Regions from separate parts of the Homo sapiens genome. Here region 1 is linked to region 2. The links are contacts of gene promoters, found by promoter capture Hi-C in blood cells and fetal thymus (Javierre and others, 2016). All regions are on one chromosome and are shown on one strand. Each heading gives the region's core, a stretch centred on a gene start or on the middle of the fragment in contact. The rest is flanking DNA. Distances are from core to core; before and after follow the strand shown.

What was found. Contacts are between HindIII fragments. The CHiCAGO score rates a contact against its expected background, and 5 or more counts as called.
Region 1: a contact is called between a fragment that was not itself captured here and the fragment with the promoter of ZC3H6 in region 2, in 1 of 17 cell types (naive CD4 T cells). The highest score is 5.2, in naive CD4 T cells.

Annotation. Positions count from the first base shown.
Region 1 is chr2:112,312,995-112,319,754 of GRCh38, forward strand. It overlaps ZC3H6 (zinc finger CCCH-type containing 6), which reads left to right. Exons shown (of 12, transcript NM_198581.3): 6 at 3,476-3,592; 7 at 4,227-4,338. Among named protein-coding and RNA genes, the nearest start is that of ZC3H6, 41 kb to the left of the region's middle. The HindIII fragment of the contact is 4,769 bases long and covers 157-4,925 here.
Region 2 is chr2:112,274,347-112,281,361 of GRCh38, forward strand. ZC3H6 (zinc finger CCCH-type containing 6) reads left to right here and starts at 1,251. Exons shown (of 12, transcript NM_198581.3): 1 at 1,251-1,680. The coding sequence starts at 1,649. RefSeq lists enhancers at 953-1,525, 1,141-1,350 and a silencer at 1,541-2,020. The HindIII fragment of the contact is 12,828 bases long and covers 1-2,900 here.

The DNA.
Region 1 (6,760 bases), core at 1,291-3,790, 40 kb after region 2:
CTTAGTATACTGTTTCAGGAGATGTTAACAGGTGTGACCTAAAAAAAGAAGGTCAGACCCAAATAAATTTGCGAAACCCAGCACATGCCATCTGCTTTTGGAGATTCTCAGTTGACATTAATGTAGTAAAGCTTGTGAGCAGCTTAGGCAAAAAGAAGCTTATTTTGTTCAACCCATCATTTACTCAACTACAAACTATTTTTTTCCCTACACACCTACTAACATTCACTGAGCCACTCACTGTTCCATGGAACAGCAGCTTTGGAATTACTATGGTTATTATTTTAGAATTTTGGGGTGACTAAAAACCTGCCTGTCATCTTCTTAGACACCAGTAGACCTTTAGAATATGCTGATTTCCCTAACCCAAACTAATACAAATGCTTTCTAAGTAAGCCTGCACCTATACCCAGTTCTTACACCCTATACCTTTAAACAAAATTAGCTTCCAGGAAAGTGTGACTTTGAGCAAGTTATACCTGTCTCTTTGCCTCAATTTGCTTAATCTGCAAAATGAGGGTATAGTATTAAGTTAACTCTAAGGGCCCCATCAAGCACAGCATTTTAGATGTCTGTAGATCTGGGCTATACCTAAAAGATAATCATATAACAGAAAAATAAAGATAAAAATACATTATCAGTCATGTCAATTTATTGGCTATCACGAGAGACATTTCTTATGATTCCAGAAACAACTGGGAGTGTGCCAGAGCCCACGGAAGCAGTTCATGTTCAGGAATGGTCTGCAGGTGGCCCATCCAGAATAGCATGAACATGGAGGCCACAGCAGAGTGGCCAAGATAGATCCGTCTCTGTCCTAGGCCTTTCAGAGACTATGAGAGTCTCCAAAGCCAAATCAATTCGGGGTACCTTCAGATTCATCATAATTTTTTTGAAAAATCAAGAGTAGTCACAAAGAAGCAAACTTTCACTGAATTTTAAAGGCTTCTTCATTTTATTGGCCATAATACTCTTAAATTGTTTTAGTATTTACTGTACCTATTACATTTTTTTGTAATAAATATTATTTTCCTGGTAGATCCTTACATTTCCTCTACCTGATATATATTAATATTTTATGCTCTTGTCTCTTGTATCAATATATCTTCTAAAGTAAATAAGTTTTAAAATGACCAAGTACAGTAGGTAGCTTGGTTTTTTTTCTCCCTCCATCTCTCCCTCTTTCTCTCCTTCATTCTTGTATTTTTTTTTATTCGCAGTACTGTCTTGTAATGCAAAGAATATAGGAGGAGTTGCAAGGCACAATTCCTGAGTTCTGTCAGTCTGCTAACTCACCATATCTTCTGGGCACTTAATTTTGCCCTAAAAATTTATTTGTTAAAGTTGCTTTAGATTTTCTATAGTACCTTGATTATAGTCAGGTTTCCCATAGCTGTGGACACTGACATACTTTCTACTCATTTAAGTGGAACTAAACTAAAAAACAAAACAAAACACTTCCTCACCACAATCCTCTATTAAAACAATGAAACATTATTTGGAAGTAATGTATACAGAAAGAGTAAGTTATTAATGAAACGCTAAGTACAACTTGTTGCATTTTTCAGGGTGTGTGTGTGTGTGTGATTACCTAATTTTTTTACTTTTTAATTTCAGAGTTATATTCCTCAGGTTGCTCATTGATTTTTGCATAATTTACTTTCTTTGGCTGTTTATTTTATTTTATAACAGCCATGATTCTTTGTATAGAATGCCTATGTGAGCTGGTCATTTATATCTGCTTATTCTAAACGAATCTCTAAACATAAAAATGTTTGTGAATCAAATTTATATAGATTTGAGACACTTTAAATGATTCTGTCATAGTATATTATAAGCAATTTCATTGTGTTTTCCTGGGGTAAATTAGGTATGTTTATATTTTTAAAACGAATCTCTAGGATTATCTGTTTACTTTGTATTCTTGTACCTTTTTTAGAATTCTTACAGTAAAATGTGATTTGAGCTGTGAATGCTGGGGATCAGATTTCAATTTAGACATCTATTGCCTCAATGTTTGCTGTGAGGCAATCTCTTGTTTTCAGTAGATTGAACTTTATGCTCTATCTTTTAGCAAATTAAGAGAAAAGGGAAAACAGAAATCAAATCAGAAGAGTAAATAGTCATTGAACTCCTATGATATACAGGGCACAGTGCATGCCAGGTGCATGAAAAATAATGTTGTTTTTTAGAGTTGATGAATGTAACTCATTACATTTAGCATGGCTAAGCATCATACTCTGCCTTGTTACTTAATCTTATACTTAAAGCAGAAGTTGAATAGGGGACTCAGGAGAAGTAAGGAAAACAAGTAGGGCTATAAGATTTCTTTTCCTTTAATTTTCTTAAGTTTTTTTCTTAACTTTTTATATTTAAAAGTTAAAAGTAATACACGCCGCCTGTTTGTTTGCCCTTTTTTTCCCCTAAAGAAAGTACAAAATAACCACACACATAAAATCTCTAATCCTGCCATCCAGAGACATACACTGTAAAATATGGGGGTATATTCTTTTTGTCTTTTTTCCTTTGCCTTTATTTATTATTGTAGAATTGGGATCAATTTTTTACTTCATAAAATATTGTAAACTTTTTTTTTGTTTTTTTTTTGTTTGTTTGTTTGAGACACTCTCACTCTGTTGCCCAGGCAGGAATGCAGTGGCGTGATCTTGGCTCTCACTGCAGGCTCCACCTCCCAGGTTCAAGCGATTCTCGTGCCTCAGCCTCCCAAGTAGCTGAGATTACAGAGGTGTGTGCCACCACACCTGGCTAATTTTTTGTATTTTTAGTATGGACAGGATTTCACTATGTTGGCCAGGCTGGTCTCAAACTCCTGGCCTCAAATGATCCCAAAGTGCTGGGATTACAGGCATGAGCCACCATGCCTGATCTGTAAACAGTTTTTATGATCCAAAGTTGTTGATTTTTTAATGACTGCATAATATTCTACCACCTAAGTGTATCATAATATATTTGACCAGTCTTCTAGTTTTAAATGTGTAGAGTGTTTCTCGTTTTGCTGTTTGTTTTACTATGTCAGTATTTTATTATATGACTAGATCTTTGTGTCTCCCTGATAATTCTTTCAAAATAATCCCAAAAAGTACAAGTTGTATGTCAAACAATATGGATATTTTAAAGTCTTTTATAACATACCTATCAATAATATGAGTGCATATTTTATTGTGTCTTTGCCCAAATTGAGAATTGTGAATTTTTAAACTTTTTATAATTTTATTTAAAAAGTTATTCATCTTCATTAAAATAGAAAGAAATAGGCTTTTTTTTGCGATCACTAGTAGCATAAGTAGATTACTAGACACATATCTCTCTCCAAATAAATGAATAGCATCAGAATGTTCAATCTTGATCACTTTTTGTAGTCAATTTGTACTTTTTTCCAGATCAACTTAATCATACATTTTGATACCTATTAATATTTCATATGCTGCATTCAAATGGAATTTTTTTCTTGCAGTATAATAAACCAGGGAAAAAATGGAAGGTTATGACTCAGGAATTTATTAATCAGCACACAGTGGAACACAAAGGAAAACAAATCTGTAAATACTTCCTGGAAGGGAGGTGTATTAAGGTAAATTTATAGAGGTATCATAAGTCATTTTAACTTCCAAAATAATCTTTAAAATTAAAGTCTTTTGGGGGATGGTTAATTTTTTTCTCTTCTCATATAGTTGTAATAAAACTGGGTCTTTAAAATGTATCTTGCATGGAAATACCGTACATTAGAGCTCATTTAATTATGTTCTGGGACAATAACATAATTTGTTGAAATCGGATTTGTTTAAAAGACACATAATGCTACGTGGCAAGTACTGTTCAAAGTACAACTAATATTAAATGATTTAATCCTACAGTGACCCTACAAAGTAGTTAATGTTATTATCCCCATTTTATTCATGGCACCAAGAGGTTAAGTAAGTTCCCATGGTAGCTCAGCAAGAAATGGTGAGTGCTGGTTGCCAATTCAGGCAGTATCCTGTGAGGTCTTGCTCACTGTGCTGCCTTAATGCATGTAGCTACATCCACTGTCTTGGGCAGGAATTCTAAGGGGTCATTTGAGTTATTATTTGTTCATTATTAAAGACTGAAGATAATGACCATAATTTTACCATGAGACACCATGTAGAAAATTCAGCTGTTGTTTCTTTGTTTCTCATTGTTTCTTACCTTTTTTTCTTTTTTCTTTTTTTTTTTTTTGTGAATAGGGAGATCAGTGTAAATTTGATCATGATGCAGAGTTGGAGAAAAGAAAAGAGATCTGCAAATTTTATTTACAAGGATATTGTACCAAAGGAGAGAACTGCATTTATATGCATAATATCCTTTATTTAAAATGTATGTTAAATAAAATGCTGGGGTTTTAAAGCATCATTGAGGTTTTAAAAAATAATAAATACACCCTATAAAGCCTAGTTTGGTTTTAAATTTAAAACAACACATTACATAAACCCAGTCTAGTCAAACTTTGTACTTCAAAAGAGCAAACTGACCTTTATTCTTTAGGGAAATGAGATAACTGCCCTTTGGAAAAAATTCTGTGAAGGGAAGGTACTTTAATATAATCAGCTTAAAGTATTTCAAGAGATTGTGCTTCCTGAAGGAGTAGTTGGCAAAATACTTATTTTATTCCATAATTATTTTACTTAAGTTCGGGAGTAAAAAATTATCATTGTGAAGATTATAAGTCTTATCAAATCTTACCACTCAATGATAGATGCTGTATATTCTTCCCCACTCTCCCTTGGGAAATATATACATTTAAATTGTATTCCTGCTCCTACCCAAATTGGAATTTCACTATATATAGTGTTCTGGTCCTTTAAAAAAATGTATTCTGCAATTTTTCCATGTTAATTTTCCCCCAAATATCTGTCAGGTTGCTCACTACGACTTATGACTAATGAAGCTTTCCCCCACAGAATTGAAACTCTATCACAGACAAAATGTTTACATATATGGATTTTTCTTCTGGACTTCGTGTTTGGCTCCATGGATTTGTTCACCCTCATGTCTGTCTTGCTTTGCTGTGATTATTTCTGCCACAACAGCCACGGTAATATTTGGTAGATTCTGATGTTTATTTTTCCAGATAAATTTTTAAATTCTGTTGTCGTGTTTAAAAAATGTGAAAAAAAAGAAAGTGAATAAAATGAAAAATGCCTGTTATCATAGATCAAAATGTCAAAAAATGGAACGATGTAATTACCAGAGGAATACATGATGAATTGGAACAGAAAAATTTCCTGTCTCAAAATCCAGAAGCAAAAAGGGAACAGATTGAAATTTTGACTCCATGAAAAAGCTTGCATTTGCAAAACAAATACATATAACATGAGCTAAATAATAAGATAAATAATGAAGTGAGAAAGATTATGTGTAATTTATATCACTTACGAAGAGGTCATATCCTTAATATATGAGTTTCTAAACATTGAGAAGAAAAATGAGGGAAGAGATACAGATAATTCCCAGAAAGAGAAATGCAAATGGTCCCAAAACATACAGAAAGATGTTCAATCTTGTTCCTAATAAGGGGAATGTAATTTAAGCTACACTGAGATAACATTTGCAGCTGTGTCACGTTTGCAAAAATAAAAAAATCGTGACAGTGAAGTTTGTTAGCAAGGATGTGAGAAGACCTTGATGCTGGCAATGTCAAAATGGTGCATTCCTATGGAGGAGAGCTTGGTAAATGCAATATGCATTTACCCTTTGACCCAGCAATCCCACGTTTTGCAGTTTCTCCACAATAGACCTGGGCAGTGATTACTGATGGCTGCTAAAATCATGAGGTGAAAAGTTAATTAGGAACTTTACAACTGATGGATGGAGCTGACAACACCTGAAAGGACTGATCAGTCTTAACATTACTAAAAAGAAACAACCAGATATTAAATGCCTTTTGATATGATACAGTAGAGAGTATTTGAATACCATCTATGACCAATATTAAAATTAACAAATGATACAAAAATAAAAGGGAAAGGGGAACTTCTAGAAATCAGTAAAAGTAACTTGGGAGATGTATTAACTAGATACAATTTGTGGATCATCTTTATGTCCTGATCTGAAGAAAGGAATTATAAAAACATACTTTTTTAAAAGTCTGGAAAATTTGTATATTGACTGGTTACTAGTTGAAATTAACACATTAATTTTGCCAGGGTGGTAATGAAGTCGTGATTGGTAAGAAAAAGTATTCCTGGCCAGGCATGGTAGGTCACACCTGTAATCCTAACACTGGGATGCTGGGGTGGGAGGATTGATTGAGGCCAGGAGTTGGAGACCAGCCTGGGTAACATAGTGAGACACCTCCCCCACTCCCATAACTAATTTAAAGAGGAAAGGGGCCAGGCACGGTGGCTCATGCCTGTAATCCCACCACTTTCGGAGGCCAAGGCGGGTGGATCACCTGAGGTGAGGAGTTCAAGACCAACCTGGCCAACATAGTGAAACCCCATCTCTACTAAAAATACACAAATTAGTTGGGCATGGTAGCGTGCACCTGTAATCCCAGCTACTTGGGAAGCTGAGGCAGGAGAATCGCTTGAACCTGGGAGGTGGAGGTTGCAGTGAGCCAAGATGGTGCCACTGCACTCCAGCCTGAGCAACAGAGCAAGACTCTGTCTCAAAAAAAAAAAGGAAAGAAACAATAGTCCTTATGTTGAGAATAGGTATGGAAATATTTACAACAAATGATGAAAGTTGTTGAACCTATGAGGTCAACATGAGAGGGACT
Region 2 (7,015 bases), core at 1-2,500:
TCATTGCAATTGTTTTTGAATGCATTCCATTTATGTATTAGTAAAATGTATTATTAAGGAAAGACAAATTAAGTCAGATATTTGGATTAATCATTGAGTCTATCATTTTAGTAAAAAGCAAGGAACTTTCCTTCAGGACTAATATATTAAATAGGCCAAAACACTGACTTGTCATTTAAAAATTTTTTAAGGTCACTTCATAAGTATAAAAAACTCATGCATGGTCGGGCGCGGTGGCTCACGGCTGTAACCCCAGCACTTTGGGAGACCCAGGAGGGCGGATCACCTGAAGTCAGGAGTTCGAGACCAGCCTGGCCAAAATGGGGAAACCCCATCTCTACTAAAAATACAAAAATTAGCCAGGCGTGGTGGCGCGTGCCTGCAGTCCCAGCTACTCGGGAGGCTGAGGCAGGAAAATTGCTTGAACCCAGGAGGCAGAGGTTGCAGTGAGCCGAGAGCGCGACACTGCACTCCAGCCTGGGCGACAGAGGAGACTCCATCTCAGAAAAAAAAAAAAAAAAAAAAAAAAAAAAAAAAAAAAAAGGCATGCCTAATAGTATTTATAAAATACTCGCATACATTTTACATGTTAATATTATTACGAAATAAAGTAACGTTTATATAATTATTTCAATAGCTATTCCTATTTAAGTAATAATTGGGTAAATTTAACAGCAAATACAAGAAAAAACTGCATGGCAAGCTATTTTCCTTAAAACATGATTCTGAACACTAAACGTTACAAAAACAGATACTTGCTACAACTGTGAAGGAGAAACTGCATTTCCCTATTATTACAAGAACAAAGGTTTTCACAAAAAAATTTAAGGACTCTACAGCCGCCTTGTTCTTTGTTATCCCACCCCTGCCCGCCTCGGCTAACGGTTTTGGGGCCCGTTTGCTTGGTGCGTCTGGAACTCCTCGGGCGGCGGGCGTCTCGCAGGAAAAACCGCGGCCCGTACTGCGCCGGGAGCAGAAGCGCTGGTGGCCCTCGTAGGTCCCGTGGGCTGCCTCCCCCTCCTGCAGACACTCGAGGAGCCATCCGGCCGCGTCTCTCGCCGCCCGGCCCCGCCACTAGGCTGCCGCCTCCGCCGCTGCACAGAGAAGGGCGAAGACCCGCCCCTGCAGGTGATTGACGGGCACTCTCCTCCAATGGTCAACGCGCTCGGCCCCGGCGGGCTGGGCAAGGGCCGCGGCTCGCGGAGGAATCTCTCTTGCCCTTTAGTCCCGGGCAAGGTGTTGCGGCCGGCGCCATTTTCTCGAGCCGCCTGTTTCGGGTGCCGCCATGTTGGTGAGGAGAAATCACCGTTACGGCCACTGTCCAAATCCCCGCGTCGCTGCACGCCGCCCGCCCGCTCCCACGCCACAGCCACCGGCGGCGAATAGAGACTAGAGCGGCAGCGCCGGCAGCGCGGGGCCGTTGCCCAGTGTTTGCAGTTAGAGCCCCATCTCTCTGGCGTGGTTGTTAATAGACTGGAAAGTCTGTGTCTGTGTCGCTCACTAGTAACCGTGAGTTTTTACCACTTCGTCACCTGTCGGCGGCGGCCGGGAGCAGGTTCCCGCAGGCGGCGCGGGGGGTCTTCCCCGCGCCCCGCCGCCGCCGGCCTCGCAGACCTGCCCTCCAGCCCCGCCCCGTTCTTGACCAAACATGACAGACTCTGAACATGCAGGGCACGACAGGTCGGGAACCCTTCTTGTCTGTCTTTCTGTCGGATGAGAGGAGGGGTCTGGGGCGGCGGGAGCGGGCCGGGGCCGGGCGCCTCCTGCATGACCTAGACGTCTCTGTGTGGCTCCGTCAGTTCCATGACGCGCACTCTTATGTAAACTGCTGGATCGCGGCCGCGGGGGAGGTCGGCCCGGCCGCGCCCGCCTCCCCGAGCCGGGGTCGCTGCTCGCCAGCGCCGGCCCCGCCCCCGGCCGGGCACGTGCGAGCCCCCCGCCCCCCGGGCGGGCTCCGTGTGCGCCGGGCGGCTCTCAGCGTCCCGGCTCGGTGCTGAGGTCCTGCTTCTGCCCGTCCAGGTGTCGGTGCTCCCGGCCAGATAGGACCAGCCAGGAATTTTCAGGAATGGGTGTTTTGATATTTGACTGCTTCCCGAGAACCGAGAACACCTCTAAAAAAATAAACATTTGGTTTTCAGGGAAGTTTTAAGCAGCACCAAAAGGCCATCTGTTGTATACAGTCTTATCCCTTGGAATTTGAGATGGCAAGTTTCAAGTTTAATATGTTAACACAAAATACTTAGGCTTTGCAGAAACTTAGTTTAGCACAGTTTTACCCTAACGTAAAAACTCCATGGATTATTCCGGCTAGCCCAATTTTCTAGATGGTGTGTATCACTTGAATATTGAGATTCTGATTTTTTATTTTTTGCTCTGTGCCTTAAGAGGCACATTCTTGTTTCCATTCGAGTTTGGGGACATTTACAAAGTATACTGTAGCATACTTAAATTTTGGTTATAATTCAAATTTTCATTCGTATATATCTTTAATAATGCGAAAGGGGGGCTTTCATTCATTAAACTTACTGAAACAAAATCCATTGCATCTGATTCTTACTTAGAATATTAATTTGAAAATCTAGAACCTCACAATTACTCCTTTGTGAATAGAAGTAAGAAAAAATATACGTTTTACTATAGACTATATACATTGCTGAAGTTTTATCTGTAGTAATGTGATCGGCTTGGTAAAGCATCCTAAACACGTTTTTTAAAACCCAGAAGCAAAAATCACAAACACTGCTGAAATTTGAAATATCTAAATACCTAGCAATCTTGAGAGGGATAAAAATGGTATTTCAACAACTTCAGTATTGTAATAATAAAAGTAGATTCCCAGAGGGCACGTCAATCAAAGTGTAAAAATTTTTGGAAAGTAAAATGCACTTTTAAAAATGATAAGCTTGCACTTGGCACATTTTTAATGATTTTTTTAACGTTATCTTTTGTATTAAAAAGGAAATTCTTAGAATGGGTTGACTAATACCTTGCTCTTGAGGTATGGACAAACCAATGATGGGGTTTTGCTAATGGAGCCTAAAATCCTTTTTTTTTTTAATATGGAAGAATATCTGTTCCCCTCTCTTAGTGCACAAAGTAACTTCTATATATGGAGTTATGTATTGTACATCATGAAAAAACAATGCCATCAAATTCAAGTATCAAAATAATTTTGCTGGTAAGGAACTGTGATGACAGACCTTTTAAAGAATTTGAAATTTTAAAATACTGGTTTAGAGGTTAGAAAACTTTAAAGAATTATTTGTAAGATATGTTAATAGGTTGGTAGTAGGAGCTAAAGATTAAGATTAGTCTATTTTATTTAAAATTCGGACTAAAAGTATTTTCTAGTGATTTCTGAAACAAAAAGGTTAGCTCCACTTTAACTTAGCCAATTGTTAAGTGGCATCATTGTGCTGAGATGAAGGAGATGGTTTTTTTTTTTCATGCTTTTTTTGTCAACCCACATGAAAAACAAAACAACTACATCAAAAACAAAGTGAACTAGAAGTCAGGAGAAATTCTACAAGATCAGATCAATGGTTCTAAACCTTCCCTGGGGAACTTTTTTTCTTTAAAGTATTGGCGCTATTTCTGTTGGTCTGGACCTCAGCCTGGGTTTTAAGAGTTCTAAAAGCTCCCCAGGAAATTCTAATATGTGCCAAATTGAGAACCGCTATACTCGATCAGTGTTTCCCAATGATAGTTAATCATCAGAATCACTTTGGGGAATAAATTTTTGTTCTGCCCAGAGCAACTGAATCAGAATCTCTAGGGTATTTTTCATAGGCTCCCTGGGAAATTCTTAAGAAATTTGGGGAAAAAATGGACTAATCTGCGGGCTTCCAAAATACTGTATCTTTCCATATAATAGCTATTTTATGCTGTTATAAAAGTTTCTGTGAATTAAGTGGAGAAAAATATATGAAACTTGGTATATGGAGCTAGGCTTTGTCTCAAGGATTTTATTTTATTTATTTTATTTTTTTGAGACGGAGTCTCGCTCTGTCGCCCAGGCTGGAGTGCAGTGGCACTGTCTCAGCTCACTGCAAGCTCCACTTCCCGCCTTCACACCATTCTCCTGCCTCAGCCTCCTGAGTAGCTGGGATTACAGGCACCCGCCACCACACCTGGCTAATTTTTTGTATTTTTAGTAGAGACCACGTTTCATCATGTTGGACAGGCTGGTCTTGAACTCCTGACCTCAAGTGATCCACCAGCCTTGGCCTCCCAAAGTTTTGGGATTACAGGGGTGAGCCACTGTGCCCAGCCAAGGATATTCTTTTTATAACATTTTCAAAAATTAAGGCATATTGTGTATGCAGGAAAAAAAATGAAGCCTATGATTTATATTTACAATTGCTTTGATTTTATACAAATTAAAATATTACTGTTTATGAGAATGAGATTCTAAATGTAAATGGAATTCACAGAATGCATAATTTTTTTCTCGTTTAAAGAAATAGAGTCTCGCTATATGCCTAGGCTGGTCTTGAACTCCTGGGCTCCAGCCATCCTCCCATTTCAGCCTCCCAGAGTGTTGGGATTACAGGCGTGAGCCACCACGCCTGGCCTTGTACATGTTATATAGTGAACATTTTGCACAAGATTGTTTGCCAAATGAATAATTTAAAAAAAATCCATTTAGTGTACTTTCCTTTAAATATTTTCACACCTGGAGTTAAAACATTGTATTTTATAAGATGTTATTAATATAAAAATACTTCTAATTCTACTTGTGGCTATGTAGAATGTAGTAGAGGACTTTTGCATAAGCCCAGAGCCTAGTTTCTAAAGGTCTTTAGGGATTTAGGGAAATCAGAGGGAGGTATAATTCTGGTCTCTCGTCGTTCAGTTCTTTTTCATTCAGTTCTCTCAGGCACGACTCCAGCCGCTCAGTTTTATATTTCAACTGGATGTTGACCCAATTAAAACAATTCACAACTCCTGAAGACGAAATACTATGAGTCCCTGCTTTGGACACATCTGTAGTAGAGTAGGAAAAGATAAATATAACCCAAGTAATTGTTACAGAATTTTCTGAAATATACTAATGGTAAAAGGTTTTGTAGGGCTTGTACTGGGGAAAAAGATAATTTTTTAGCATGAACCTTTTAAGAGCTTGTGAGTCTCAAAGAGTCTTTAACTGATAGGTGATATGGATAATACTCCCCTTTGGGAGGAGGTTTATAATACATAAACAACCTCCCCACCCTTCCCTCGCAGCTTTCTGTCCTGTACTACAAGAACAACAAAACTCCAACTAGTCAGAATTGCAAGTGGTTTATGGCCCCCCATATAGATTGAAAACTTGCTAAGAGACTGCACTGGAGAACCTGAAAGGATGAGGATGGAAAAGATGATTATACTTTTCATTTGCAACAGGGCTTTCATTTGATTCTCACATTAATCCCATGTGGTAGTTAATTAAGGTAGCATTACAAGGTTCAGTGAATTGTCTGAGATCTCATAAATACAACCTAGATAAGAACCCAGGTATTATTATTTTCAGTCTTGCAATATTATTTTCCTACTTGCAATATTATCTTCACTCTTCATTAAGTTTGCACAGCAAAGTAATGGAATAAGTTCTGGGCTTTAATCCTTGAGTAGTTTGGAATTGTAATGTGCTACATTTGAGAGAGAGCCCTTCATTTTGAATAAAACCTTGGTACTGATCCTGATCTTCTAACTTGGGTTAATGCTCTTCCCCTTTTCATTATTTTTTTCATTTGTGAAATGAAGTAGTTGCACTAGATCATTTTCAATTTTCCTTCCCACTTAAATCAATTTTAATTAAAAAAATTGCAGATGCCTTTTCTCAGATTAGAGTACACTTTTTGCTCCACACAATATCTGGTTTGTAAATTAGTATGTTCCGTGGAGTAAATAACTTTCCTGACTAGCCATTAACTTACTTCTGATTCCTGAATCCACTAATTTAACTATTGTTGAAATTACTAAAGGAAATTTTTCTTTAGCAAATGTAAAACCTCGTATCAGGTCTCAGGTTTGATGTTGTAAAGCACTCTGACTCTCAGGAAGACTCTTTTTTTCCCCCAACCTCTCATAAACAAATATTTCATTCATTATAAAATTTCATTCATTACATTTTCATTCCTCAGACTTAACAGTGTTTCGTCTCTGCTAAGTATAGTGTTAAGCACTGACAAAAGAACTCTGGACACAACATCATGAACTTGCTCTCTGGGATCTTATAATCTAGTTGCAGAAACAGATTGGTAAATACATAGTATAGCACAAGTACTATAATGGAGGCCTGAACTGAGTGCTGTGGGGGTACACAGATGAAGGCTTCTGGGAGACATCATGGCATAACTAGACCTGGAGGATGAATAAAACTTTGGCCAAGTAAATACAGAGATACACGAAAAGCATGGATAAATGGCACAAGTAGGTTCAGGGATGATAAAAGTGTTAGTATGTGGAGAGTGTACAACTATTTTGGGGAATGGGGAAACGGATTAAATTTGGGGCCAGACCCTGAAGGATGTGGGGATCCCATCAAAGTCTTTTAAGCAGGAGAATGATCAGATGCATTTTTTGGTATACTACCTGGGGGATAGGAGGAAATGGACTACAGAAGGGGAGATCAGTAGAAGGAAGACAAGTTAGGAAGCTTTTCAGTCATTTTCATTAAACATGAAGCTTAATATGTATTGTTCTAGGATCAGGAATACAGCAATAAAGAAAAAACTTGGTGTAATGAAACATATTTTCTTGGGAGAGACAGAAAATAAACATGAAAAACAGATGTGTTCAATGGTGATAAAGCAGAAAGGGAGATGGGGAGTCAAGTGGATGTGGGGAGGGTGTTTAGGGAAGCACTTATGAAAGAGTAACATTTGAGCAAAGAGCCCTGATACAAGACAACAATTCAGACCCAAGACATTTGAGGAAAGAGCATCCATATAAAGGGAGTGGGAGGTAGAGAAAGCCTGGACCAGGAATGAGCCTGGTATGATTGAGGAAAACACAAGGGATTTCACTCTTG